2 separate regions of the Homo sapiens genome follow, and region 1 is linked to region 2. Evidence: promoter capture Hi-C in human tissues and cell types (Jung and others, 2019). All regions are on one chromosome and are shown on one strand. Each heading gives the region's core, a stretch centred on a gene start or on the middle of the fragment in contact. The rest is flanking DNA. Distances are from core to core; before and after follow the strand shown. Region 1 overlaps GTPBP1 (GTP binding protein 1). Region 2 holds the start of MICALL1 (MICAL like 1).

Region 1 (3,925 bases), core at 139-2,638, 800 kb before region 2:
ACTCTGGGATTGTTGTGAGGGCTGCCTTCCTCTAAAATAGTAGGTTCTGTTACAAGGAATAAGCAGCTTGGAGAACAATAACCAGTCCCTTTCAGAATGGTTACAAGCCTATGTGTCTGACAGGATCCAGTGGGGAGAGAGGACGACCTCTGTTATCCCAGCTATCCAGACTAAATAGTCAGTAGGGTCTGGGGCAAGGAGCCTGACAAGAGAGGAATTCTGGGCATCTTTTCTCTGCTGACACCAAGAAGAATCACGGAGGTCCTCTGCTAAGCAGAAAATAAGTCGCAATGGGATCTGTAAACAGGGCCTGGAAGGGAAGACCTCCAGCTGCCCAGGAATAAGCTTAATTCTAGACCTAACTATGGCTTGCCCTATTACCTTAGACAAGAAGTTCCTTTGCTTTGTGCTTCATTTCCTCTTATGCAAATAGAGAGTACTGGAGGTAAAAAGGAAGCATCTGTAAAACTGCTTGGAAAGTCAAGCATATTATGGCCACTAAGGTCAGAATTAACATTCACTTTGTACTTTTATGTACTCCAAACAGTTCTGCAGACACTAAAGAATCACTGTAACTGAGACACATAAGCAGAAAAGTTCAAAAAGCGGGGAAAATGTGCTCTAAATAATTTCTTTTTTTTTTTGAGACAGAGTTTCACTCTTGTCGCCTAGGCTGGAGCACAATGGCACGATCTTGGCTCACTGCAACCTCCGCCTCCCAGGTTCAAGCAATTCTTCTGCCTCAGCCTCCCAAGTAGCTGGGATTACAGGCGCCTGCCACCACTAATTAGCGCCCGGCTAATTTTTTGTATTTTTAGTAGAGATGGGGTTTCACCATGTTGGCCAGGCTGGTCTCGAACTCCTGACCTCAGGTGATCCACCCGTCTTGGCCTCCCAAAGTGCTGGGATTACAGGCGGCAGGGCCACCGCACCCGGCCCAATAATTTTTAAAAATAAAGTGAAAGGAAAACTATGCTCACCTGATCCCTGCCCAATGACATATATGGTCTCTCCGCATCCCTCGTCCATCCTCTCCCACATCTGCCGAAGTAGGCTGTCATACTGCTCTGATGTAGGGCTCACTAGAACCAGCTAGAAAAGAAACCAACAGCCTTAGGACCACACTTGCTAGAAGAGCACCACAGCCAAAGCTGATCAATATAGCCTAACCAAAGATCCTGACTGAACCCCATAGCACCCTCATCTAAAAAGGCTGCACAGCCCCTTCATGCCCTCTCTGCTTCTCCTGAAGTAGCCTTTGAGCCTCAGGCCTTATATGAGCCAAATAATATACTACAATGTGTATGTCTGAGCCATAACCCATGGTAAAGAGGGCACAAGCAGCCTGCCTCCTGCTGCTTAACAGGAAGGGCAGGACCCAAGTGACTGAGAATATGGCACTGTGGATAGAAAGCGCAGTGCTTTCCATCTACATGCCAAAGTCTTCTACCTGCAGTTGGCATCTGGAAGCCCACAAGACATATACCTCATATACCTCCATGCCCTCCACCCACAGGCCAGTGGCTTCCAGGATAACAAAAGAATTCTGTTCTATCTTGTCTTAGCTATATTGAATATTTGGGAATGAAAACTGCCTGCAAGACTCATCTTCATCAACAAAGCACCATCACCATTACCACTACGAGGAGTATTAGCACCGTCATTTTGCAAATGTCTGCCAATAACATTGAAGTGTCAACCATTTACTTGGGTAAGCCATTTGGCAATCAGACCCCATTCTCTAACCACTCCTGTGTGACCTTGGACAAAGAATTTAACCACTCTGAGTTTCAGTTTTTCAATCTATAAAACGGAGCTAATACTACCTGCATCCTAAGGCCACTGTAAAGAGCAAATATAATAACATGTAAAGCATCTAGTCCACAGCTCAATAAATGTGAAACTACAAGGTTTTCTTCACCCAATCATTCCCAGAAAAACCTTGTTGGATGAAACTAGCCACCACTATTCACTAAGTGTTTCTCCCTTTGGAAGCTCTCGGAGCCTTAGGTCTCCACATTTTCTATCGTAAGGACATGAACCTTTCGCTTCTAATCTGTTCCTCCGGAATCAATCTATTCAACCCAACCCTTCTCTCCCTCCACACCATCACTTTTTCTTTTTGATATCATCGATATTAATATACATATGATTTTTTTTAATTGTAAGGAGGACTTCCCCAGCTATGTGATGAAATAACACTTCTAGGAATATTAAATGAGCTGGTCAAGAAATGAAGGTACTACCGTCTTTGCAACTCTGCCCTGCAATTTCCTATCATGTTTCTTCAGCACCTTGACCATGTGTTGACATCCAGTTTGTTTGCTCTTGAGTCAGGTCCATAATCTTGTAACTTCCTGAGTTGACTCATCAGAGCTTGTAATTGTAACCTGGATGTTTCCTGGGTCTTTTACATCGTCCTGGCCATCCCTCTCTCTAAGTTTGGCCATCCTCATTATGGCCTTACAGGCACAAGACAGGACCAACTTTGACAGGCTAGCTGGCTTCCAAGTGCTCACCTGAGACTACAATGGCAAAGAGCAGTTGAAAATAACTTGCTTAGGTTGCAGGGAAAGTTCCTCCCCAGTTTAGGACCAAGTTTCATGCAAATTTGCCGCCATAAACTATAAAAAGTCACAAACATTTTCAAAGCTGGATAAAATGTCTATCGTAACTATCCTACAAATGTAAGTGGTGGTATTGGTGTTCTATCTTTCACCCACTGCTATTTAATCTGCACAGGAAATTAGGAACTATCTCGTTCACTTCAAACATTTACTGAGTCTCTAGTATGCATCAGGCACTATTAGGTGTCTTCTTAAATATTTCTAATTTTTACAACCCATCTGTACTTTCTTAAGATGAGGTGGTTGGAGAACTGAAAGGTTAAGAAACTTTCCCAACGTCACAGAGCCTTTCGATGGTAGGGCAGGAAAGGGAACCCAGCCCTGTCTGACTCCCAAGTTGGCATTCTTTCCCTAAGGAACGTTAAGCACCTTCAAAACACCAGTCACATCTTGTATTTACTTTTCTATTCTTCACAATGTCAAGCCGTTGGCGAGGCCTTAATTCCTGCCTACCTTCTCGACAGCTCAAAAAACACGGTTTTAAACGTCCTTCACTGCTCCACTCATACAAGATGAGCTTCCACTCACAGGATAGCGAGACTAAGGAGCCTGACCATCTTTCCATTTTGTTTCGGGTGGCCTCGAAAAGTAGACATTCTCGGACATGCTCCTCCCCAGCTGAGCGACTACTTTCTGTTTCCTTTCCCGAGTCTGGGAAGAGACGCGGCGGCCACCCTGCCCTGGCCTCCGACTACCTGTCTTCATGAGCGTCTCGGCCCCCTGCCCGGGCCCCCTCGCCCCTCTGCTGTCCCGCGCGGTCCAGGGAGAGGAGACTCTCGGTCTCCGAATCCCCTCAAGTGGGGACCCGAAGAACGGGGAGGGGCACTGAGCGGGGACAGGGAACGCGCGGAGCGCAGCTGGCATCGGGCGCCCCCGTTCCACGTGGCAGAGCCGAGGGGTTACGATCTCGGCGGGAGACGGGAGGGCGGGAGGCTGGGTTGGCGACGCGGGGGAGCCAAGGTGGGTGCGGGGACCATGGGGACGGCCCCTCGCGCCGCGAACCCCCGCACGTCCCGGAGACTAGCAGGTGGGCGGGCTCGGCCCCTTCTTCCCGTTCCGCGCTCCCCGCGGACAGGGCGGCCGCTGGCCCCGCCGTCGCCCGGGAGACTGCTCGGCCAGCCGCCCGCTCCCCTCAGCGCCCGCCGCCGCCGCCCGGGCCTACCTTGCTGGTGAGGTCCAGCTCTGGCTCGCCGTTGAGCGCCTCGCCGTCCTCGCTGCAGTCCGAGTCAAAGCCGCCGTGGAGTCGGGCGGCGGCCGCCGCGGCCCTGGCCGCCCCCGGGGAGCTGGGCTCGGGGGCG
Region 2 (4,021 bases), core at 672-3,171:
GTGAGCTGTGTCACATTATCAATCCCACCTCACAGATGAGGACACTGATGCCTGGAGAGAGCCCATGAGGACCCAAGGCCATGCGCCTAAGACATGGAGAAGCTAAACACAAACCAGGCGGCCTTTATTTACTTTGATGCCACCAGGCTCAGGCCCACCAAATGGCTTCACTTCACACCCAAGTCCCCTCCCACACTGGGTTTGTCCCTGCTTCCTGCCTCACTCCTGCCCCTCAAACAAAACAGAAGACCCCTTGGGCCCTCCCTTCCAATGCCCAGGTCTAACCCTGGTGCCCTTTTCCTCCATCCTTCTACCCCCTGCTCCTGGGCAACCAGGCATCAACCTTGTGCTTCCATTAGTATGGGTGTCACATGCCCCACAGCGGGCAGGGGCCCACCTACATGACCACCTCATCTTGTTCCCTTCTGTATCCACAGCCCCAAAACCCTCTCCTCCAGGGCCCAAGCCACCACCCACAGACACGGTACTGCAGGGTACATACAGGTAAACCAGGTGCACCTGCATCATGGAATCCTGAGGCAATCCCTTAGAAGCCTTCCCACATGCTGCCCTCGGACAGTGCAAATCTGGAGGTGGAACAGGCACAGAAAGCCTCCATCTGCCAGGCTGGGGGAGCCCTGGCAAGAGGGCTGCATGCGAAAGGGGTAGGGACCAGAACTCTCCTCCCTGATTCACAGGTGAGACCTGAAGTGCAAGGAATGGCACCAGATAAACTCACCCAGTGTTTTAGGAATGAAGGGACGAAAGGAGGAGAGGTTCCAGGGCTCAAGGCAGAGAGAGCAAAGACAGAGGCTCCAAGTCAACTGTTCCGGGGAGTCTGAATGCATTTTCCCATGAGAACCTCATTGGGCAGCTCTGGGCAGGAAGGGGCCATTTCACAACCTGCAGCACCCGGTTGGTGTCTATCAATCGGATCCTAGGAGTCTTCCCAACATTGCCGGCCTGTGACTCCTCTTGCGCGCCCCACCTGCGTGCCCCACTGAGGAGGGCTGCAGGGCCATCGAGCACACACCCGGGAGGCAGGGCTGCGTCCTAAGTTGGGGGGCGTGGGGAAAGCACAGGGTCTGTACATCCATTCATCCAACACCTGTTAGCCGAGGTCTCCTCTGTGCCGGGAACTGTGCTACTGTCCGGAGACAAGCTCCTATTTGGGGGTCAGAGAAGTGGGGGTTCACCTGCACACCCGGAGCAAGGGGCCACCCCGAGTGGGAAGCCTCGGGGGAGAGGGGAGGCCCGGCGAGCCCGTGGAGAAGAGTTTAGGGTAGGAGAGGCCCAGGGCCCCCAAAGAGGGCTCAACACCCCTTCAAAGAGGTCAAGGGCTTAGGGGTTCAGCGATCCTCGGCGGAAATCAGCGCTTTGTGGGCGGGGCCAGTGTCCCCGCGGAGGGACCAGCCTCGGGGGAGAGTTCGGGATCCCACGGGCGGGGTCAGGGCGGCCGGGCGGGGGAGGGGCGCCCTGGGCCGGGGTCTCAGGGACCCGCCCGGCGTCCGGGGCCGTCGGGGGGGTCGGCGTCTCCGTGTCCGGGGGCGGCGCCTGTCACCGCCCGGGCTTCGTGTTACTGAGGGGGGGCGGCGGTCGCGGCCCCAGCCCGCCCCGCGCCGCCCGCTCGCCCGGGGCCCCGCACTCACAGCAGGTCGGGCCGGTGCCGGTGCAGGATGGCGCAGAAGGCCAGGCCGTCCCGGAAGGAGCTGCTCAGGTCGCGGATCTCCACGCCGCGGTAGCCCTCGCACTGGCGGCGGCACCAGGCCAGCAGCGCGCCCCGCGGCCCAGCCATGACCCCGCGGCCCGCCCGGCTCCGGCTCTGGCTTCGGGGCCCCGGCTTGGCCGGGACGGCGGCCGCCGCGCGGGCCCGGTTTCCGGCTGCGGCTGCGGCTCCGAGCTCGGGCGCCGACCGGCAGGCGAGGGGAGGGGCGGAGGCGGGGCCGCGGTGTCCTCGCTCGGGCGCCCCGCGGCCCTGCCCTAACCTGCCCGAGCAGCGCCGCCGCGTGGCCCGGCCCGGCCGGCCGCCGCCTACTCCGCGCTGCCCGCTCGCCTCATTGTGGGCCGGTCGTGGGAGCGGGCGTCCCGCCGCCTCCGTCCGCGCCGGAGGCGCGCCCCACCCAGCAGCAGCTCCGCCTCCAGTGCGGAGCCCACCCCTACCAAGACGGGCCGGCGCCCCATCGCCCGCCCCTCGACGGCGCCGGGCTCCCGCTGCTCCACTGGGTGCCCGCGAAGCCCCCGCACCCGCCGCAAGCGGACCACTCCCCACGATGACTTCACCGCCGCGGCCGCCGCCGCGCCACCCACCGGGAGCCCTCCACCCTTTGGAGGCGGGACACCTCGTGCTCCCATCCGGCCTCCTTCCCGCTCCTAATGACCGCAAATCCCCCCTTCCACCCCTAGCTTGAAACTTTGGGGAGGCAGTTCCCCTGCAGACCTCAGAGCACCCCCCCCCGGATAGCCACCAGCTTCCCTCATCCCGGCTCCCCACCCTAAAGCACCGCTGAGCTGGAAGTTGTCATGTCCACCATCCCCTCCCCCATAGCTTGGCAGGGAGACCCATGCGCCCCTCCGCCACCTTTGGTCCAGGTGTCCCCTAGGTGATTCACTGAGCTCCCCTCAGCCCCTGTGTAAGCTCAGGGATCTCGTCCCTCCCCACTGCGGCCTGCCGGGTCCCCTCAGCCATGGTTAGTGTGGTGGTGGTTTGAGTTCCTATGGGAAGGACCTAGGCCAAGGAGGCCCCTGCCTGGGAGGCATACAGGCAGTTTGTATCTGGCCCTGGAACCTCCCCAAGGCTCATTCTCTATCTTTGCCGTCTTCAAAACCCCCGCCAGCCAACCGACCCTTCCAGCCAGCCAACCCTTCCAGCCAGCCGACCCTTCCGCAGAGGCCCCTCCTGACTCTCCCACAGATGAATCAGCCTCCATCTGCTGCAGAGGTGGTGATGTCACCCTGACCCATGCAATAGTTAGCTGGAGTGGGTATTTCGCTCCCTCCCAAGGGAAGGAACAGGGTCTTAGTCATCTTCATCACCCCTGAGCACTCAGGGGAGTGGAAAGATCAGGCATTTTGGAGCCCTATTAACCCAATCTCCAATCCTGGCTTTCCCCACTCCCTTAGTCATGTGATCTTGTGCCTCCCTGGACCTCAGTTTCCACGACTTAAAAATGGAGATAATACCTGCTTTACAAGGTGGCTGAGAGGATTAAGATGTAAAGTGCCTTACCCTTTAGTTATCACTCATAAATTCTATTGACTCCTGGTACTTGGTAAACATGATGAAATGGACTGAAATATTTTGTACCCAGATTGTCATCTGGGCCATTCTGGGTAAATTATCAAGGAGAGAGGCCGACTTAGGGAATTCTACCTCTTCAAAGTCCACTGAGTCCCAGTCCAGAATACTGGCCCAGGGCCTGGAGAACCCAGCTTGCCAATCTGGGCTGGCCTAACACTCCTGCAACTGGAAGGCCGCCATCTTGGCTCAGTATATGGACTCTCAGGCCACCTAGGAAGAGCATGGCCAGAGTGCCTGGCTAGCCCTCTGGACTTCTCACCAGCCCTGAGCTGCCAACTCCTGCCCTGTCCCCTGTGGGATAACAGTGGCAGGAAAGCAGGATTCCGGATGCTTTTTATGAAATCAGGGACTTGGGTTCAGGATCCTGACACCAGCATCCACCTAGGCCTTCAAAGACCACCCAGGACTCTCATTAAAACCTAAGGGGGGCGGGGTTGGGCACCATGGCTCATACCTGTAATCCCAGCATTTTGGGAGGCCGAGGCAGGTGGATCACCTGAGGTCAAGAGCTTGAGAACAGCCTGGCCAACATAGTGAAACCCCGTCTGTACTAAAAATACAAAAAATTGGGCCAGGCGCGGTGGCTCACTGTAATCCCAGCACTTTGGGAGGCCAAGGTGGGCGGATCATGAGGTCAGGAGTTCAAGACCAGCCTGGCTAAGATGGTGAAAGCCCGTGTCTACTAAAAATAAAAAAATTAGCCAGGCGTGGTGGCACGTGCCT

The links. The method cuts DNA at HindIII sites, captures the fragments that hold promoters and counts their contacts. A contact is called where the count stands out against the background at its distance.
Region 1: a fragment that was not itself captured here is called in contact with the fragment with the promoter of MICALL1 in region 2 in 1 of the 25 tissues and cell types used here (lymphoblastoid cells).

What each region holds. Positions count from the first base shown.
Region 1 is chr22:38,706,012-38,709,936 of GRCh38, reverse strand. GTPBP1 (GTP binding protein 1) reads right to left here. Exons shown (of 12, transcript NM_004286.5): 1 at 3,790-3,925; 2 at 981-1,092. Among named protein-coding and RNA genes, the nearest start is that of GTPBP1, 2.0 kb to the right of the region's middle. RefSeq lists silencers at 3,345-3,484, 3,665-3,925 and enhancers at 3,178-3,863, 3,864-3,925. The HindIII fragment of the contact is 3,166 bases long and covers 1-2,971 here.
Region 2 is chr22:37,904,197-37,908,217 of GRCh38, reverse strand. It overlaps MICALL1 (MICAL like 1), which reads right to left and starts at 1,921. Exons shown (of 16, transcript NM_033386.4): 1 at 1,650-1,921. The coding sequence starts at 1,795. RefSeq lists enhancers at 1-782, 783-1,598, 1,599-2,414, 2,415-3,230 and silencers at 1,369-1,478, 1,589-2,308. The HindIII fragment of the contact is 31,369 bases long and covers 1-4,021 here.